Regions from separate parts of the Homo sapiens genome. Here region 1 is linked to region 2. Evidence: promoter capture Hi-C in human tissues and cell types (Jung and others, 2019). All regions are on one chromosome and are shown on one strand. Each heading gives the region's core, a stretch centred on a gene start or on the middle of the fragment in contact. The rest is flanking DNA. Distances are from core to core; before and after follow the strand shown.

Region 1 (4,977 bases), core at 2,326-4,825, 350 kb before region 2:
TAATCCCAGCTACTCGGGAGGCTGAGGCAGGAGAATCACTTGAACCCGGGAGGTGGAGGTTGCAGTGAGCCAAGATGGTGCCGCTGCACTCCAGTCTGGGTGACAGAGCAAGACTCCATCTCAAAAAAAAAAAAAAAAAAAAGACATTTGTTTTGGCTGGGGAAGGCTTTGCAGAGGGAGGTAACTTCTAGATTGAGATTTGAAGTCAGAGTCCATCCAGAAAGTAGGGAAGACATTTTATGTAGAGAAGTAACAAGCTACAGGGATCAGAGGTATGAACCAGGGTGCATGTTTGGGTTATGGTGAGTGGTGTCTGGCCAAACTGTGTGGCTCAGGGTCTTTCTGCTTCACCATCTTTAGCATAGAAGCCTTCCTTGTGCTCACTTGCTCATCTCATTCTCACAAAATAGCTGCTTCATATCTAGGCACCATCTCTCTATTCCCACAGGGGAAAGAGGGAAAGTGCCAAGGGTAACAGCGGAAACGTCTTCCTTTTTATTCAGGAAATGAGGGACTCCCCAAGGCTTCTGCTTATATTTCATTGGCTTGAGCTGAGCCGTACAACCATCACTAGTGGCAGGTAGTCTGGGATGTCAAGAAAGTAGCTTCCCAGTCTCTTTGGTTAGAAGGCAAAGGAGAAGATGGTGGGAATCGGTTTGCATCAGTCACTCTACACATTATCTGCTTTGTTAGGGCAGCATTATCTTAGTATTGTTACCAAGTTCAGGGTCTTTTCTGGGGTGATCAAGCATCCTGGGTCGCCTGGGACCAAGTGGTTTTCTGGGTTGTAGGACTTTGAGTGCTATAGCCTGGAAAGCCCTAGGAAAACCAGGATGGTTGGCCATCCTAGTCTTTCCCCATATCCTCTGTTGTCCAAAAATATGGAAGCAGGTCATTTCTTGACATAGGAGCTGCCTTGACTGGGCTTAAAAAGGCCTGAAAGGCAGCTTAATAATTTACAATGAGAAATAAATGATATTGGATCAGGGGAGGATACTGGAAGAAGAGCTCCATGGGATTTGCTTGGTGCTCGTGAGATTTTGACTGACAAGAGATCTTAGGGCTACTATATTACCCAAATTCAGGGGACTCTGTTCACTTTGCCAGCAGCCTGGGATTAATTCTGTAGTGCTAATGCCATTCTGAGAAGCCTTTCAATGAATCTGAGCTCAGGGTTCTTAGTCCCCCTGTTACTGAAGCTTCTCCCCAGACAGTGTCGTTTTTGTTTTTTCCTTCCTTTCTAAGCTTCTGGTGCTGACTAGTCTCCCCTTCTAATGGACAGTGTTTAGATACGTTATTGTCTAAAGGTAGATCTGGCCAGGCATGGTGGCTCACACCTGTAATCCCAGCACTTTGGGAGGCCAAAGCTGGCAGATCACCTGAGGTCAGGAGTTTGAGACCAGCCTGGCCAACACGGTGAAACCCCGTCTCTACTAAAAATACAAAAATTAGCTGGACATGGTGACAGGCACCTATAGCTGAGATCCATTGTGAGTGCCATTGCACTCTAGCCTGGGCGACAGAGTGAGACTCCATCTCAAAAAATAATAATAAAAATAAAGGTAGATTAAAAAAAAAGAGACATAATTTGCGTTATCGTAAAATTTACTTTTTTAAAGTGTGTAATTCAGTGGTTTTTAGTATGTTCACAAAGTCATTCACCACTGTCTAATTCCAGAACATTTTTCTTACCCCAAAATGAAATCCTATACCCATTAGCATCACTGCCCATTTCCTGCTTCCTTTAGACTGTGGCAACCACTCATCTATTTTCTGTCTCTATAACTTTGCGTATTTTAGACATGTCATATAAATGGAATCCTATGGTATGTGGCCTTTTTTAAAAATCACTGGCTTCTTTCACTGAGCATAATTTTTCAAGTTCTTTTAAGCTGTAGTATGTATCAGTACTTCATTCTTTATAACTGCCAAATAATAGTTCTTTGTATGGATATACCACATTTTATTTCATTCATTCATTAGACATTGATGGTTCTACTTTCTGGCTATTATGAGTAGTAGTACTATGAACATTTGTGTACATATTTTTGTGTGGACACGTTTTTACTTCTCTTGGCTGTATACCTAGCAGTGGAATTGCTGGTCTTCAGGTGTGTCTTACTGATGTTTTTTTTTGAGATGGAGTTTTGGTCTGTCGCCTGGGCTGAAGTGCAGTGGCGCAATCTCGGCTCACTGCAACCTCCACCTCCCAGGCTCAAGCAATTCTCCTGCCTCAGCCTCCCAAGTAACTGGGATTACAGGCGCACGCCACCATGCCCAGCTAATTGTTGTATTTTTAGTAGAGACGGGGTTTCACCATGTTGGCCAGGCTGGTCTCGAACTCCTGGGCTCAAGCAATCCTCCTGCCTTGGCCTCCCAAAGTGTTGGGATTACAGGCGTGAGCCACTGTTCCTGGCCTTATCTTACTCTCTCTTTTTTTTTTTGAGACGGACTCTCACTCTGTCTTCCATGCTGGAGTGCAGTGGTGCAGTCTTGGCTCACTGCAACCTCCACCTCCCAGGTTCAAGCCATTATCCTACCTCAGCCTCTGGAGTAGCTGGGACTACAGGTGCAGCTAATTTTTGTCATTTTAGTAGAGATGGGGTTTCACCATATTGGTCAGGCTGGTCTCCATCTCCTGACCTCAGGGGATCCGCCTGCCTCGGCCTCCCAAAGTGCTGGGATTATAGGTGTGAGCCACTGTGCCCAACCATCTTTAAGCCTCCTTAAGGAGGCTGTGTCTCTAACATGCCCTGTTGGTTTTATAGTTGGACTCTCACTGGACAGCCTCGTTTTTCTAAGATTTGGGGGTTATAAGGATCAGAGTTGTCCCCAGTTGGCTCCTTTCACCTCGTCCATAAGGTTGTTGTGAGGCTTCACTGAGGTAATCTGTATAAAGTAAGGTGCTGGCCTGTACCCTGTACATCACTCAGTAGTGGTGATTTCACTGCCCTTTGCCTCCTGCCTTTGGCTTCTGGCTATCTCCAAACACCCCATGCCTTCTGTGCTCCACCCTCTGTTGAAACACAGGAATCTAAAACCATTCATTGATACTTTTTGAGTGATTATACTGAAAACAATTGCATGTTGTCTCATGCAGAATTTTCGTGTTAAACCCTGTGTTGCAAGGATGCCATTAACCAGCACACAGATGGCGGTGGAGATTGATTGATTGAGATGGGGTTTCGCTGTGTTGCCCAGGCTGGAGTGCAGTGGTGTAATCGTAGTTCACTGTAACTTTGAACTCCTGGACTCCAGTGATCCTCCTGTGTCAGTTTTCCAAGTAACTGGGACTACAGTCTCATGTCACTGTGCCTGGCTAATTTTTAAAATTATTTTATAGAGCTGGGGTCTCGCTATGTTGCCTAGGCTCTTCTCAAACTCCTGGCCTCAAAGCGATCCTCCTGCCTCAGCCTCCCAAAGTGTTGGGATTACCAGCGTGAACCACCACACTTGGCTGGGGATGGAGTTTTAGACACCAGAGGCTTCCTTCCGAGGTTGACCTAGAAAGCACCCTTGGTGGGTGCCATGGGATGGGGGAATACAGTCAAAAGGAACCTGCTCTTCCCGCTGCGCCTCCACCTGAGGTGGATGTGTCTGCTGGGGCTGCTGGAGTCTCCATCTTCCACTTTAACTTCACTTAAGAGCTGAAAGCTCTGCCCCTTCTTCAAGATTTTCCCTGCTGTCTCCCCTTCCCTGCTCAACCAGAGATTCCTCTTATTCTTCCTCTTGCTATTAGTATTAATCTGGCTCACTGACTCTTTTCCTTAACCTCATCCTAAAACTGTCTGATGCATATTTTATATTTTCTTGCATGTTTGACTTTTAGTTAGTATTTTACAGTAATTTCGTTCTGCAGCCATCCTCTTATCTGATACCCTGGAACTCATTCCTGTGCCTATCAGTTCTCACCTCTGGTAATTAAACTTTGTAAAAAAGAAATGTGACATTTGGACATATTCTCTTATTAGTAAAGGTATTATTGTGTATGAGACTAATGCTGTGCATCTATAATAAGTTGTTTCACCTTGTGAATACTAATGTAATTTGGAAATAAACCTTTCTTTGTTAAAGACTTTTTCTACATGGGCCACGTTTTTCCAGACCTATTTCCTAATAATTTGTGGTTTTTAAAGGTATGTCAATAGAGATGCTGTAGCCAGCATGGCTGGATTCTGTTAGATAAACATTTTGTGAGATTGCTTACCTTAAACAATTGTCTTTAAAAGTTAATTTCTTCCCTAATGTGTCAGTAAGGAAATTCTATAGTATTTAAGAAGCCTGATAAAGTCCAGTTAAAACATTTTGCATTGCTCTTTAAACATCTTTTCTGAGGGTTGATGTGTTCGTGTTTGTTTGGTTCACATAGTTTCTTCTGAATTTTAAGAAAGCTTTGTCAGAATCAGTAACTTGCCTATAGTGTATTTTTCATGACCATATGGCTTTCTTCATCAAAAACAGCTAAGTAAAAATTTCAGTGAATAATAGTATATATATATGGGAATGTATTCCTCATCATTTGTATGCTCTTGAGAGAGTGACTCATGTACTGTTTTCTATTGAGTTCCCGAAAGTTTATAAAGAGATGACAAACAATTGGCTATGGGATTGAAATAATGCACATGTAAAATGGAAGGGAAAACATGGAAACAGTTTCTTCCTTTGTTCTTCCCTTACCTTGATGAAATTTTTACCACTTAACGTTTTTCAGTAAAGTCAAGGTCAGTATCAGAGCCTAGTACGGTTCTGCTTGCCGCTGTCTGAGGATTACCTGTCTTATTACAGAATGTACATGCTCCCAGAGGAGAAGATACAGTTTGATTTCAGGATGACAAACAGCTCTTCTGGGACAATAGTGTCAAGTATAAAAGGATTATAAAGGTTTTAGGACCATGGGATGGTTTGAAGGGGAAAGGGTGAAATGACAGTTAAGGTTGGCATCACCGAGGTCCCAGTTGTTGGCTGCCCCCTACTTCT
Region 2 (4,893 bases), core at 14-2,513:
CACCACGGCCACGTCGAAGGTGCCGGCCTCGCCCGCCGCCAGCAGCTCGTCTTGCGGGGGGAGGGAGGGCAGGTGCGGCTGAGTCCGCGGCCCCGGCGGCCCTGAGGCCCCTCCCAGGCCGGCCCGGGCTCTGTGACAACCGGCCCTGCCCTTAACCTGCCCGGCAGGCCCAGTCACAGCTCGGCCACACAGCAGCCTCGTTTGCAATGAATGGCTTCAAAGCCCTTCCCGCTTCGGTGCTCACCCAGGGTCTCCAAGGCGGGCTTCAGCCGGAGGTCGATCTTGTGCTCCGCCTCGGCCTGCGGAGGGAGCGGGTCAGCCGTTGCGCCCCCGCCTGGGGCTGCAGAGCTAGGCGCGGGCGCTCACCTGCCTCCACAGGGGCCGTCCCAGCTCCGGGGGCTGCGCGTCCACCTCGCAGGTCACCACGCGCCCGTCCGCGGGCAGCGCCAGGGCCAGGGCCAGGGCGGAGTAGCCCGTGAAGGTGCCTGGGACCAGGACACAGACGGGCTCAGCCCAGAGTGGGGGTCGGCCCGGAAACCTCGGCCCTCCGGGATCCCGGCCGCGTGCCCCTACCCAGGTCCAGCGCCTTCTTGGCCTGGATGAGCCGCGCCAGGTTGGCCAAGAGCTGGGCCTGCTCGCAGGTCATCATAGAATCCCCCTGCGGCTGCTCCAGGGTCAGCTGCGTGAAAGGAGAGGGTGGCACCAGCCATGCAGGTCACCCACCTTCGCCCTGGGGGTCCCAAGCCCCAGGGGCGCGGTTCTGGGCGTGGCCTGGGGGACTGGCCCTTCGGAACGCCCACCGCACCCGGCCCAGGGAAGCCGGAAGCCCAGGGAGGGCCAGGGCCCAGCCCAAGGTCACACAGCCACGTGGGACCCGCAGGGGTCGAGAGGGACGCCCGTTTCCGTCCCGCGCCCTGCTGACCAGCCTCAGGCTTCGCAGCGCCGGGTGCTCCCGCATGGAGCGGCTCAGAAGATACTGCCACAGGCGGCTGTCCTCGGGGGGAAGCAGGCACTGCTCTCGCCGGCCTCGCCATGGGGGGCACCGCCTCCCTGACGGGGAGAGGGTGTTGGATTAACCTGAGCCACGCCGCGCCCTACTCTGCGCCCGCCCACCCGCCCGCCGGGACCAGGTCCTGCTCACCCAGGAAGAGGCCAGTGGCGAAGGCGGCGCCCAGTGCGGCTGAGCCCAGGGCCAGCGCGGCGGGCACGGAGAGCCGGGGCACCGGCTGGGTCATGGCGCGGGCAGGAGGCGGCGGGAGGCAGTGACAGGTCACGTGAGCTGGAGCTCCTGGGACAGGTCTCGGACTCGCGGGCCCGCCGGGCTCCACCTTGTCGGGGCACTACCCGCGGAGCCGCGGTCTCGGGCATCATCTGGCGGCCACACAGCCTTACTGCAAGCCCCGCCCGAGAGAGCCGGGCGCGATCTGGTGGCCGCGCCGGGAACTGCGCCCCTGCGGGGAGCAGGCCAAGCGCCTAGATCTGAATTTTCCCGCCTGTGCCCGCAGTCCAGGTGCCTGCCTCCATTCCCCTCCTGCCAATGCTTTTTTCTCCTCGCCACCATTTATTCTGAGGCCCCTTGGGGGCATATGTGAATTGTGTATGGAGGGCGCCAGTGTAAGTTACAAGATAGTCACAAGTACAAGAGATAGAGATTAAAGGGGGAAGGCCTCCTGGACAAGATGCCCCAAAGCATCAGGCTGAAGGAGTGAGGGAACTGGTTTGAGGGCATGCAGCCTCGAATTGGGGTTCAGGAGCCCTGGGGTGGGCCTGTGGAACTGAGACCATATTCTTAGCTGTTAAAATCCTGCTTTTGGGGGCCAGATGGATACGAGTGTCTAATCTTGGTCCTGCCAGTCTCTCTGAGCCTCAGTTTCCTTCCTGTAAAATGAGGCCTACAATCTTACCATAAAAGGCACCAGATCCCACAGCTTCGCACACAGTAGCACAATACATAAGTGGCAGCTGCTGTTATGTTGGTAGGTTGGAATGAAGACATCTTGGGGAGAAAGCCGGTGAAGCTCCCTTGCAAGGTTGTTCTGTTGAAACACTGTCCAGAGAACACTGATTGAACCCCTACCATGCGCCAAACTCCGGAGGAGGTGAAAGACGCTGACGCTGTCCTTTTTTTTTTTTTTTTTGAGACTGAGTCTCGCTCTGTCACCCAGGCTGGAGTGCAGTGGCACAATCTGGTCTCACTGCAACCTCCACCTCCTGATTCAAGCGATTCTCCTGCCTCAGACTCTGGAGTAGCTGGGACTACAGGCACGCACCCCTACACCCAACTAATTTTTGTATTTTTTGTAGAGACGGGTTTTGCTATTTTGGCCAGGCTGGTGTCAGACTCCTGGCCTCAAGTGATCTGTTTGCCTCGTCCTTCCAAAGTGCTGGGATTACAGGCCTGAGCCATTGTGCCTGGCGTTGGTGTTCTTTTTTTTTTTTTTGGCAAGGTCTCTGGCAAGGCTGAAGTGCAGTGGCAAGATTACTGCTTATTGCAGCATCGAGCTCCCAGGCTCAGCAATCCTCTTGCCTCAGCCTCCCAAGTAGCTGGGACCACAGGCGGTCACCACTGTGCCCAGCTAATTTAAAAAAAAAAATTTTTTTTTTAAAGAGAAGGGGTCTTACTATGTTGTCCAGGCTGGTCTCGAACTCCTGGCTTTAAGTGATCCTCCTGCCTCAGCCTCCCAAAGTGCTGGGATTACAGGTGTGAGCCCCCGTGCCTGGCCTCTGGTTGGTATTCTTAGTGAAGCTGGTTTCAGAGATGCAGGTCACACACAGCTGGCGGGTGGCCTAAGCTTCACGACTTCTGCCTCTGTGAAATGGCGTTATGAATAGTCCCAACCTCCTAGGGGACCAAATGAGAAAATCCAGGCTGAGGACTTACACAGGGGACCAAATGAGAAAATCCTGGCACTTAGTGAGCTGTCATGTTACCTTTAAAAGGAGTCAAAGTCCGAAGGGCAGCCGGTTATCTTCCTGCTGCACTGCAGATGTCCCCTGGGGTGGAGGCTGTAAGAGCCTTTTTTTTTTTTTTTTTTTTTTTTTGAGATGGAGTCTTGCTCTGTCGTCCAGGCTGGAGCCCAGTGGCGCGATCTCAGCTCACTGCAACCTCCGCCTCCCAGGTTCAAGCGATTCTCCTGCCTCAGCCTCCTGAGTAGCTGGGACTACAAGCGCCAGCCACCATGCCTGGCTAATTTTTGTACTTTTAGTAGAGACGGGGTTTCACCATATTGGCCAGGCTGTTCTCGAACTCCTGACCATGTGATCCGCCCGCCTCGGCCTCCCAAAGTGCTGGGATTACAGGCGTGAGCCACCGCACCCGGCCAAGAATCCATTTTAACAACGCTGACTAGGCATTGAGCTCCACTGGGGGGCTTCCCAGGCGGGGGCTCAACCTGAGCGAGGCCCAGAGGCCAGCTTGTTGAGTAGTTAATGAGAGAGTGGCTTGGCTGAGGATGAAGGCCAGAAACTTGCAGTTTCTTGATCTGAGCTGCAGGAACCTTGGGCCTAGCGGAAGCGAGGAAGGAGGAGGCGGAGCTCTGGGGTGAGGCTACGGGCCGGCCTCTAATCAGAGACAGGGTGGGGCTGGTTCTTTGACCAACCAGCCGGCAGCCCCCGAAGCACATGGCTGTGTGGGGGCAGAACCTGCTGTCTCCGTGCATGCGTGCCCTTTCGGCCCTCCTGGGACTTGCCTCCGGGCTAGCAGCACTGCTCGAGGACAAGCTCCTTGCCCTTTACTCTTTGACCCTCTACGTCCCGCTTGGCCTCTAACTTGACCGTGAATCTCATTCTGCGGGTAAGGACTGAGGCTGCTGGTCTCTCCTTCCCAGGCCTGAGCATACAGCAGGCGCTAAATAAATGCTCTTGACTAGAGTTCTGGCGCTGCCTGGCGCTCCTTGCTGCCAGGAGTAAAAATAGTAACAGCAGGGCCCCTTTATTGAGGACCTGCCGGGCACCAGGCACAATGCATCCAGGATCCGGGGGCGGCTGTGATCTTGTTCCCATTTTCCAGAGCAGGAAAGCTCAGAGACCACCGCCCAGACCCTGCAGCCAACAGAGGAAACGCGCGTACCTCTCCCTTGAACCCTGGGACCCAGAGGGAACAGGCCTTCTTGGCTCCTCTGCTGGGACGAGGGCCCAGCTCGAGCTGGCCTGAGGGCCCTGCGCTCAGGTGGTGCCGCTGACCGCTCTCTCCCTTCAGCCCGGGGGTCCAGGTTGCAGCAGGCCCCCAGCTCACACTGAAACTCCCTCCTACAGCCTGGCTTTAGGCCGGAGCGGTGGAGGTTGAGGGGGAGCGGGTGGGGAGGGGAGGCATGTCACCATCTATCCCCGTCAGATTAAAAAACTAATTTGAAAAGATTAATGTATTCCATTCTTGTTACGCTGGCTCTGATACCTCTGGGCCGGCGGCCGCTCTGCTTCCTGATTATTGAATTTTTATGGCCTGGTAATTAATTGCAGATTCCCTGTTTTGTTCTATTTCTTTTTCTCTGACATTTTAATTTCAACAAAAAGCAGTGGTCTCCATGCAGGTTCTCTCTGGAGATCCTAATGGTCTATAAAACAGAATGACTTATAGACGTGGCACCCACTTCAGTTGGCGAGCGATTGTTTGAAACCTTGCTGATGACGCAGAATTTAATTTTTCCACCCCCTCCCCTTTTTGCTACTCATTTCTTGTCTCTTGCATGGCGGCACCAGTATCTCAGCTCACCAGGAAGGGAGCAAAGTGTCGCCTCCGAATCTGTTCTAGGGCTTTTTCCTAGAAGCCTGGGGGCTGAAGACAGAGTGGGTTTTGATTCTTCTCCAGGCAGTGGGCCTGGTAGAGGGTGGGGGGAGCTGAGCCTCCCCAAAGGGCCTTGTGGATGTGGGCAGCAGCCCCCAGGGGAGGGAATG

What was found. The method cuts DNA at HindIII sites, captures the fragments that hold promoters and counts their contacts. A contact is called where the count stands out against the background at its distance.
Region 1: a fragment that was not itself captured here is called in contact with the fragment with the promoter of COMTD1 in region 2 in 1 of the 25 tissues and cell types used here (aorta).

What each region holds. Positions count from the first base shown.
Region 1 is chr10:74,878,498-74,883,474 of GRCh38, forward strand. The region is part of intron 3 of KAT6B (lysine acetyltransferase 6B); the gene reads left to right. Among named protein-coding and RNA genes, the nearest start is that of KAT6B, 54 kb to the left of the region's middle. The HindIII fragment of the contact is 7,129 bases long and covers 12-4,977 here.
Region 2 is chr10:75,234,694-75,239,586 of GRCh38, forward strand. COMTD1 (catechol-O-methyltransferase domain containing 1) reads right to left here and starts at 1,264. Exons shown (of 7, transcript NM_144589.4): 1 at 1,142-1,264; 2 at 923-1,050; 3 at 574-679; 4 at 367-485; 5 at 245-299; 6 at 1-50. The coding sequence starts at 1,235. RefSeq lists silencers at 1-222, 383-672, 803-882, 1,043-1,182, 1,218-1,512. The HindIII fragment of the contact is 14,083 bases long and covers 1-4,893 here.